2 separate regions of the Homo sapiens genome follow, and region 1 is linked to region 2. The links are contacts of gene promoters, found by promoter capture Hi-C in blood cells and fetal thymus (Javierre and others, 2016). All regions are on one chromosome and are shown on one strand. The core of a region is centred on a gene start or on the middle of the fragment in contact, and the rest is flanking DNA. Distances in the headings are between cores, read along the strand shown. Region 1 overlaps ALS2 (alsin Rho guanine nucleotide exchange factor ALS2). Region 2 holds the start of FZD7 (frizzled class receptor 7).

The links. Contacts are between HindIII fragments. The CHiCAGO score rates a contact against its expected background, and 5 or more counts as called.
Region 1: a contact is called between a fragment that was not itself captured here and the fragment with the promoter of FZD7 in region 2, in 1 of 17 cell types (fetal thymus). The highest score is 5.8, in fetal thymus.

What each region holds. Positions count from the first base shown.
Region 1 is chr2:201,775,776-201,780,598 of GRCh38, reverse strand. All of the region lies in intron 1 of ALS2 (alsin Rho guanine nucleotide exchange factor ALS2), which reads left to right. Among named protein-coding and RNA genes, the nearest start is that of ALS2, 2.7 kb to the left of the region's middle. The HindIII fragment of the contact is 272 bases long and covers 3,260-3,531 here.
Region 2 is chr2:202,031,320-202,036,663 of GRCh38, reverse strand. It overlaps FZD7 (frizzled class receptor 7), which reads right to left and starts at 2,809. Exons shown (of 1, transcript NM_003507.2): 1 at 1-2,809. The coding sequence starts at 2,016. The coding sequence ends at 292. RefSeq lists enhancers at 1,768-1,887, 1,085-1,925 and silencers at 2,488-2,567, 2,678-3,227. The HindIII fragment of the contact is 9,940 bases long and covers 1-5,344 here.

The DNA of each region.
Region 1 (4,823 bases), core at 2,146-4,645, 260 kb after region 2:
GCAGTGGTCTCAGCTGCGTGAAATTCCTTCAAGCCCCCTCTTCCCGCCTCCACCCACGCTGCCTTCCAGCTATTCATTCACGAGAATTTCTTGAATGCCCACACTAGGCGCTGAGCTGATAAACTGGGGTCCGTGGCCTGGAACCCTGCTGAGTGTCCCTGGCGGCCTTGCCACAGGGTGCAAATCGCGTTGAAGAGTGGACCAAGGGCTACTTGAAAAGGCGGTTGCGGAGAAAGAAAATAGCTTTGATAATAAGAATTAGTAGTTTAGGCAAGTCTTTGAGCCTATCAAGTAATTCATCAAGAGGAGAAGATAAGTTATTTTGAGAAGCGAAGCCAGAAAAATAACACAGGTCCTTGACGCTGGTGTTCGTCCTCGGATAATAGGGCTGCTTTGGAGACAGGCAACAGTAGACTGGTAGAATCGTTCTATTGCTTAAGGCTTTGATGGTGGAAGAGAAAAAACACTCTTGTTGAAGTGGCATATCCAAGAACAGTGCTTTCTTTCTGGTTTAGGATGGAGAAGGAACTGACTGCTGTACCCAAGTGAAGATCTTTACTCAGTTACCCTTATATTTGGCTATATGGAATAAAATTGTGTGATATGTTTATTCTGAGCAGGTACAAAACTTCAGCAAACCTATTGGTCCCACATTTTCCCCCCCATTTATCATATGATTTGGAGTGACCGGTTGACCTTTGAGTTAATGAATAATTTAAAGCAGTGAAAAATTTTTTGCAGTAAACTACGGTGTTTTAACCTTGATAACATAAGCATAGTGGTTAAGATTCTAGGCTTTGTATCTGAACATACCCAGAGTCACATCCATTTACATCTTTGATTTTGGGCAAGTTATTTAATCTCTCTGCCTCAGTTCTCTTGTCTCTAAATTGGGGATAAAAATGTTTTCCTGATAACAGTACCTTTACGTGTAATGGTTCATGTATCGTATTTATTACAGTGCCTGTTTTATGGTAAATATTCAATACATATTAGCTGTTTTTATAATTAATTCCTCCCACTACATCATGATCCAAACTGACTCTTTTCTTAAGTGATGGGGAAGGGAACTGAATATTTTAAGGAAGTAGCTATAAAATATGATTTCAAGTTGTTCTGTAGTAATTTTGGTGTTCCATAAGGACATTTTAATGTGAAAAAGATACTGACAGAATCTATACATGGTTTGAATTTATTAGTTTCTAAACTATGACCAGTATTAGCAGATTTAAAATTCATAATTATAGCAAGAAAACGTCAAAGTTGTTTAACAGTGTTAAAATTTGAAACTGTAATGATCCAGAAAAATGAAATACCAAACCGATAATTTTGGGAAAAAAACAAAACTTGAGTGGCATTATGCAGGCCATTTACTTTTTAAATGTACTCAATATAAACAGGAATCCCTTCTCTCCAAATTTCAGTTTTTCAGAATTTGGGCTGTCATTTGAAACACTTACTTTGGGCACTTTGACTGTTAAAGAAGCAAAGGGTATGCTAAGAACTTCAATGAGTCTTGATGTTAGTGTTTTTGTAATTAGGTGGAATCTCCTACCTTTTCATGAAAACTGGGTTTAAAGCAGTAGCTGCTGGGTCCATTCTAATGATAATCTCAAAAATGTGACTGACTTGTAAAAATCTACAATTATTTATTAATGTGAGACTAGGTAAAGTATGAGTTGAAAAACTAGGAAGAAAGGCAGAGTGGTGATTTTTAAGCTTGTATAAAGGAAGGCCCGCTTTGGGTACTATGAGGTACCTTTCTCACTCAGAGGCATGCTGTGAGGATTTGTGACTTTTAAATCATTTAGCTCTTTTTATAACTTTGTGGAATTAAATCTACCACGTATTTCAAGTGTATTCAGGATATGAATTTTCCTGGTAGAGAGTTTTAACAGATTTTTTTCTCTTAACCCTTCATTGATGACCAAACAATTTTGTTGTCTGTAATAAGAAAGTACTCGGTTTTGTAGGGTGTCAGTCCTTAAGAAAATGTTAGGTAGTCATCAATAAAATAGCAACAATCTCTGGCTTGTTTCTTTTTCATATTGCATTTAATTTTCCTTTCCCTGTCTCTTATTCATCTGTATATGTGATGGTGCTTTCTTTAGCTTATGTCTTGATGTTTGCCTGCATGTAGCTGAACTGATTGATCCAGGTGGGTAGAGGAAAAAATATTTAAATTGGTAGTTTTTGGAGCTATTGTATATTTCTTTCAAATTTGAAGAAAATTTACAGTTTTCTCAATACCTATGAGAAAAAGACTGGGGTTTGTTGGCAGAGTTTCGCTTAGCTGCTAGTGAATTATGTCCAGAGAGAAGATCAGCTTTCATCTCATTAATTCCACAAATTGATCATCTCATGTTTCCCTTAATTATCACATTTTAAATATTTTTCTTTTGAGTCATCACACAGTTCTTCAGTTCACATGGCCTCCCTATCAGGAAGGGAGTGGTTTAGACCCAATAATGGCATTTGGGTGGGCTAACATTCACTCCAGGATTTTTTTTTCTTCCACAGCCTAAATTTTTGTAGAGCCAAGATCTTAACTAAACTTGGGGCAATTGGCTAAGCAAACATATAACAAGGATGATTATAGCAGCTCTTTAAAAGAGCAATAAAGTAGAGCAATCCAACTGTAAAGATTAGTGGGGAAATGGATAAACTGGTTTATTCATGCAATTCAATACTATCTTCTCATAAAAATGAATGAGCTAGATCTATACTTACCAACATATATACATCTCAAGTATGTAATACTGGGTGAAAAAAGCAAAATGCTAAAGGATTTATACAGTAAGATGCATTTGTGTACACTTTGAAAGCAACATAATAGCATGCATTATTTATTGATATGTGTATATCTAATGAAAGTACATAAAAGTAAATATGAAAACGTGGGAATGGGATACATTAACTTTAGAAATAGTAACTAATTCTGAGTGGAGTTTCTTCACCTCTGTAACTTATTTTTTCTTGTGTTTTAAAAAAGAGCTGAAGCCAATATGAAAATATGTTAATATGTGTTAAAACTGGATGATGAGTACATAGATTTGTTATTTATTTTTACAGTTTTATGTATAGTTAAGATAGTTTGTGAAACTAGCACTTTAACATTTTTATTTATAATCAGGACTGTTTCCCAATATGTTTGCTTTATTTTACTTTGTACCCTCAAATTAGGAGACTGTGGAAAAAGAACTCTTCTTTCCCTGCAATAAGAAAGGAATGTGCCAGTGCAGCTCCACTATGTAAAGCTTTTCTAAGGAGAGGAGACAGACCAATTATTTGGTCAGTTTTGCTTTGCTGTTTGTGCTCCTGGGAAAATGCTTTCTTTAGGACATGAAGCCTGCAGGGGAATTAACATTCTAGAGATGCTTGGGAAATGTAGGCATATACCAATCATGAACTCTGGAAGTATAGGGGAGCAAGTTGTATAATAAGGCCCTCAAAGGAATTTGGACATGTTGTGACTCAGATACAAAATTACTACAGATTTGTGTAGTATTAGCATTAACACTTTGAAAAGCTTAACTTGGTTACATTTTATTACAACGTAGTTATCTTGAGTTTATACCTTGAATGCAAGTATCCCAGTTGTTGCTCAAAGAAAATAGTTGTCTCTATAGATATTAGTAAGTAACCTGATGACAATGTGTTAAATGGTTGACTAATGAATAATACGTTTAGTAGCTGATCCCTAATGTAACCTCAGTATTTAAACTTGTGAGTTAAACAATATTTTTATTTCTAATAAAGAGAACCTGCTACTAGCACTATTAAAGCAAGTGAAACTTGTATCACGAGAATAATATTTTTTAGTATGTGTATTTCCTGTTTAGTTATGTGGCCCCTGAATGATCCTAAGCACTGTTATCAGTTGGTGAAAGAAGTCATCATACTTTGAACTGTAAATCTAATATTGCCTTTGAAAAAATTGTGGCCATTTTAATAAGAGAGTAGTTGCAAATATTAACGGAATAAGTAGTTTGTGTCAGGACTTACCAGGACATTCACTGTACCATGTAATAACAGGCACAAATAGTGGCAGTACCTGGGAATTTGAAATTCATTTGTTAGTATTATAATATTCATCACAATGCATCATGGGATTATTATTTAATAATCCTGAAAAATGTGTTTAAAATATGCAGTGGGTACAAAAAAGAGCTAAATGGGCATTGCTGGGAACTTATTGTACCATGTTTACACACTTTCCCCCCACTCCACCATGAATAATTTCCGATTAGAGGATCGTCATAACCAGGAGAGTGTAGTTTCAGTAAGTTTCAGCATGAAATTAGCAAGGCATTAAAAAAAGACTGTAAAGTCTTCCTGTTTCTCATTGCACCAAAAGCTGTCTGTGTACTAAGGAGAAAGGGAGAAAGGAACACTTCTCTGAGTTGTTTAACCATTTTTAAAGTGACATGAGATAAAAGTGTCTTCATTGTTAGGATATACCTTTAGCAAATTATATATGAGAGTTTCTATTAGGAGAAGACACTTTTTTCTTTTGTATCTGTTACTGACTTTTATTACAGGCACTAGAAATCTATAGCGTGGAAGTCTGTGGATTGCAACTGAAAATCAGGGGCTGTATCTTTCACTCAAGCACTCACTTAAATGTAACCAGCTTGTTCAGAATGATTATTATGGGTACAAGAGTATACCGGTGAATAAGTCATAGTCTCTGACCTCCAGGAGCTTAAAATATATTTTGAATCAGTGACTTAGTGCATATCCTATTAGTAACAACATTATAACTAATAAGTAGCTTTCTAGGCCAGCCTACCGAATATATCCAATGCCTTAATTTACTGAAT
Region 2 (5,344 bases), core at 1,560-4,059:
TTCTATTAGGCACAAGCTGGCCCGTACCTTTGACGATTCACATCGCCGTTATCATCATCTTCCTGCAAGTCTTTGCCTGAAATCTTTTCATCCAAACCGCTTTCCACCCAGGTCTTCTTTTCCAAATCACCCCTCGCCCCAAATCTGCAAAGAACTTCTCACTTCCAGGTCACTTCTCAGTAGAGGGGGAGAAAGTTACAGAAACAGGCCCCCACCCAGCAGTTCTTTTCCCTACCGTGCCTCTCCTCTTGCAAGAGGGCTGGGGTGGGAAAGGTGGGGAGGGGCCGGGGCTCATACCGCAGTCTCCCCCTTGCTGCTGTGGCTAAGTCTGTGGTAGAAGCGGCGCCACGACTGCAGGGTCTTGCCCGACCAGATCCAGAAGCCAGTGGTGATGCCGACGATCATGGTCATCAGGTACTTGATCATGAAGACGGTGAAGTCGGGGCTCATGGGCGGGAAGTGGCCGGGCGGGCAGGGCACGGCATAGCTCTTGCACGTCTGCAGGAGCCAGGTGCGCTCCCAGTGCTCGCGGAAGGCCTGCTCGTAGAAGTAGCAGGCCAGGACGATGGTGGCGGGCACTGTGTAGAGCACGCTGAAGACGCCGATGCGCACCATGAGCTTCTCCAGCTTCTCGGTCTTGGTGCCGTCGTGTTTCATGATGGTGCGGATACGGAAGAGGGACACGAAGCCGGCCAGCAAGAAGGACGTGCCTATGAAGAGGTAGACGAACAGAGGCGCCAGCACGAAGCCCCGCAGCGCGTCCACACTGGAGAGGCCAACGTAGCACACCCCGCTCAGCAGGTCCCCGTCTACCTGGCCCATGGCCAGGATAGTGATGGTCTTGACGGCGGGCACGGCCCACGCGGCCAGGTGGAAGTACTGCGAGTTGGCCTCGATGGCCTCGTGGCCCCACTTCATGCCGGCCGCCAGGAACCAAGTGAGAGACAGAATGACCCACCAGATGGAGCTGGCCATGCCGAAGAAGTAGAGCACCATGAAGAGGATGGTGCAGCCCTCCTTCTTGGTGCCCTGCGCCACCGTGCGGTAGCCATCGTCCGAGAAGCGCTCCACGCACACGGCGCGGTCCTCTAGAAGGAAGCCGGCCACGTGCGCCACGGCCACCATGAAGTAGCAGCCCGACAGGAAGATGATGGGCCGCTCTGGGTAGCTGAAGCGCCGCATGTCCACCAGGTAGGTGAGAACGGTAAAGAGCGTCGAGGCGCAGCACAGCACGGACCACACGCCCACCCAGAGGCGGGCGAAGCGCCTCTCCTCCTCCTTAAAGTACATCAGGCCGTTGGCACGGCCCGGTTCGCACGGGGCGCCACAATCGCGCTCACCCAGGAAGCGGTAGCCCAGGTACGGGGGCACCTTGAGCTGACGGGGGCATGAGAAGGGGAAGGCGGGACGCCCCCTGCCATCTGAGGCCCCCGGGGGCAGCGCGGTGAAGGGCAGGTCCGGCAGGTAGGGCGCGGTAGGGTAGGCAGTGGGGCCGCCGCCTGGGCCCCCGGAGCCGTCCGACGTGTTCTGGCCCACGCAGATCTCGCCCGCACCGTGCACCGGGAAGTTCTCGCAGCGCAGCCGCTCGGGCCACTGGAAGCCGAACTTGTTCATGAGCGCCTCGCAGCCCTGGCGGGCGCGCTCGCACAGAGAACGACACGGCGGGATGGCCTGATCGAGCACGGTGCACACGGGCGCATACATGGAGCATAAGAAAAAGCGGAGTTCGGGAGAACACTGCACCTTCACCAGCGGGTAGAACTGGTGCACCTCGAGGCCCGCGTCCTCTTGGTTCGTGTGGCCCAGCAGGTTGGGCAGGATGGTCTGGTTGTAGGCGATGTCCGTGCACAGCGGGATGGAGATGGGCTGGCAGAAGCCGTGGTCCGGCACGGAGATGCCCTTCTCTCCGTGGTACGGCTGCGCCCCGGCGCCCGCGGACAGTGCGCCCAGCAGCGCCAGCACCAGGGCACAGAGGCCCAGGGACGAAAGCGGAGCGGCCGCGCCGGGGTCCCGCATCGCCGGCCGCGAGTGCAGCGGTGCTCTCAGCCTGAGGAGTGCGACGAGGCGGTTGGGAGAGGCTTGGATGCGGGGAGGCGCCGCCGCGCCCGACGCATGAGAGTCCTCACGGCGCCGGGGCCGGGCCGTGGGCGGCGTGGAGCAAAGGGCGCTGCCGCCTGGGTGCCCGCGCCGCGAAGGCGCCGCAGACGCCGCCGCCCTGCACTCGCAGGGCCGCCGGGGGCCCAAAACTCGTCAGCCTGGGTTGGGGGCGCCGAGGAGGGCCGCCTCGCTCTCCCCGCGGGGACGTAACGGTGCGGCTCCCTCCGCCGCGAGGAGCAACAAGCGGCTCCGGCACCCTTCAAAGTTTGCCCAAGACTCTGGACCCCCGGCGCACCGCAGCGCGCACGCCCCCCGCGCCTGGTCCGGTCCCCGCTAGGAGAACCCCTGCCGCCGCCGCTCGCTCGCCCCGGCCGCCGCCTCCGCGGTGCTGCCCCGCCTCCTGGCCTCGAGGCTCCGCTCGTCGCCGCCTCCTTCGCCTCCTCCTCCACACCCCGCTCCTTCTTCAGCCCCAAAAGCTCGGCCCCAAGTTTCAGCCAAACGGCCGGCTCTTGCTGAGTCCGATCTCGGCCCCGGAGTCGGGAGCACGGCGAGTTCTTTTTGGAAACCCAGTCACACTGCGTCCGAAACCGCGAGGCGCTCGTGCCCGCGGCCTGGCCCCGGCCCCTCCAGCCCCTCGCAGCCCCAGCAGCGAGTCCTGGCGCCCGCCGCCGCCGCCGCCGCCGCCGCCCGCCGGGAGTGAGCGCCGACTAACGCCTCGGAGTCGCGCTGGTCGCCAGAAGAAGCGTCGGGCTCGCGGGGTTCCGGGCCGGCCCGCCCCCTCCCGTCCCCTCCCGTCCCCTCCCCTCCCCTCCCCTCCCCCCCCATTCACAAACCACTCCGGGGGCGGCCCCAGGCCCCGGCGGCCCAATGGCGGCCTTTGTTTTTTCGGTGGCCGCCTTCGGATTGGGCGGAAGTCGGAAGGGGCGGGCGCGGGAGTGGCGGAGGCGGTGTCCGCGGCGCTCTGGGCGGATTCCTGAGGGGAGGGGCGGGGGACTGGGAGGGAAAAGTTCGGAAAAACTTTTACCCTGAATTCGCTCAGGGACGAAAACGCGCAGAAAGGGAATTTGCTTCAAAGATTTGTTCCTCTTCCTGGTGCACTCAGATGCGCATTCCTGAGCAGGGGCGCCTTCGCCAGCGGCGTTTGAGGGGAGCGAGGACCGCGCAGCGCCCCTTCGGGGAGAGACGTGACCAGGAGTCGCGTTAGGACTGCAAAGGCTGGCTCTGGCGGGGCTTTCGGGTCGCCGGGTCCTCAATGTGGGGTTTGGGACGGGACGAGAAGGGGGTGCGCCTTGCGGATCGCCTCTTTCCCCCCGGACCCAAAGAGTCCACGCGAGGCCACAGTCCCCTCTCCCCTCCCCCGAGTTATAAAAAGGAGGAGGGGCCGCCTCCGAGGAGAAACCCGAGTCGGGCGGAGGGGGCCGAGTGACGGCGGGAGGAAGGACCCCTCGGAGGAAGGGCCCGAAGCAGGGAGAGCGGGGAACCCGGGCTCAGGCCACCCCGCCCGCGCGCACGGCCTGGAGTCTGGGGAACTGGGGTGACTCTAGCGAGGTTTTAAGGAAACGAAGACGGCGTTGGGGAGACTGGTTCTAGAAGTAACCTGAGACCGAGCGCCCAGGAACACTCTGTACGACGCGCCGGGCGTCTCAGTGGCCCCGTGTGCCTTGGTTCTGCGGCGTGTGCCCTTTCGGGATCCCATCTTCGTTGCAGAAGCAACCATTTGATCCTCCATTTAGAATCTGCGTAGGAATGTTTTAATGCGTCTTAGAAACCAGGCTAATTAAAGAGTTTTCAAAACACAAAGCGGGGTTATCCTCGTTCTCGGGTAGCGTTTTCTGATTGGCAAACGTTCTTTTGTTCTCGGTTAAATCTTCGTCTTGAGCCAGGCGCTGGGCGCTCGCGCGCGCTCTCTGGTTACTCCTGCGGGGGTCATAAGTCACCAGGGGGCCTCTCCCCTCTCTCCGGGCTGCCAGGAATATCAGGAATTCCCATGCAGGAAAGTGACATGTTGAGAAGGAAAAGAAAAAAATCAATCAATCAATCTCTCCTCCTCCTCCTCTTTCCTCTGTCTCTCTCTCTCTCTCTCTCACACACACACACACACACACACACACACAGCAATCCTGTGCTTTAAAAAACGTTATTCCTGGCGGAGCCCTTCTGCCTCAGTCCCGGGTGCTGGAGCTCTGAGCGATTTCTGATCAGGTTGAACCTTGGCAGAAGTTGCTGTCTCTGCTGCCTCCCGTGCGCTTCTTCTACAGCAGGAAAAAAACTCATTCTGAAATCGAAGACAATTAATTGGGTTCCCTTCCATGGGAGACTTTGGCTTTCTCTGTTTTTCTTTATTTATTTTCGATCACTGAAGATTGCTGGGAATCGTTCTTTCCGATTCACGGTTCTTTGTCCTTCCCCACTCCTGTTAATAGGTCGAAAGGGCGGAAGGAAGCCTTTGGGCCAAGGCAGAGTGTTAGACTGATCACATCCTCCATCCGGCCCTCAGCGGGAGTCGCCTTCTTCCTCCCAAGCATCAGTTTCGCCCTCCCTCCCGGACCCCCCCACCCTTTTTTTCCTTTTCTTTGGGACATGTGCTGAAGGTAATACGATACCTGCTTTAAAAATGTTTCATTCCTTCTTTGTGTTTTTAAAAGGGCCCCCCTTTTCTTTCTAAATTATTATTTCTATTACCTAACATCGGGGAGTGTTGATCTTCGGTTGAAATATGTTGCTTAAAGACAATGCTGCTGCTTTGCTTTGTCATTTAAAGTATGTGTGGTGGGGGGTTAGATTCCTTTTTTCTCTCCATGAGCTTCAGGATATCCTCCTTTTCTAAATCAAAATTTCATGCTTATTCATCAGGCCACTGATCTAAGTCATCTTTGCTTATTGAGGAAGAAATACCAAGCACTGTCATCAAATAAAATGAAAACTGACAGGATAAAATACTGTCTCAACTGCAACTAAAACCAATTTAGCTGATGAGCTTCTACTCTCCATATTATAACCCCAGACAGCTCCGATGTTAGGCAATAGGGATAATAATTTAGAAAAAAAAAACCCTTAAATACAAGGGACGAATGAAAAGCAGTCTATGCCTAAGATGCAGAAAACCCATCCCAGATGGAAAGTGTTACAGATGTGAGTCCTCTTGCTCTGTCCCAGGCAGACAAGTCCAAAAAGCAGAGAAGCAAAGCCAATTTTTAAAACAGATTGTTTTGTTTTTAAAGATTTTTAAAAAATCAATCCAAAATTA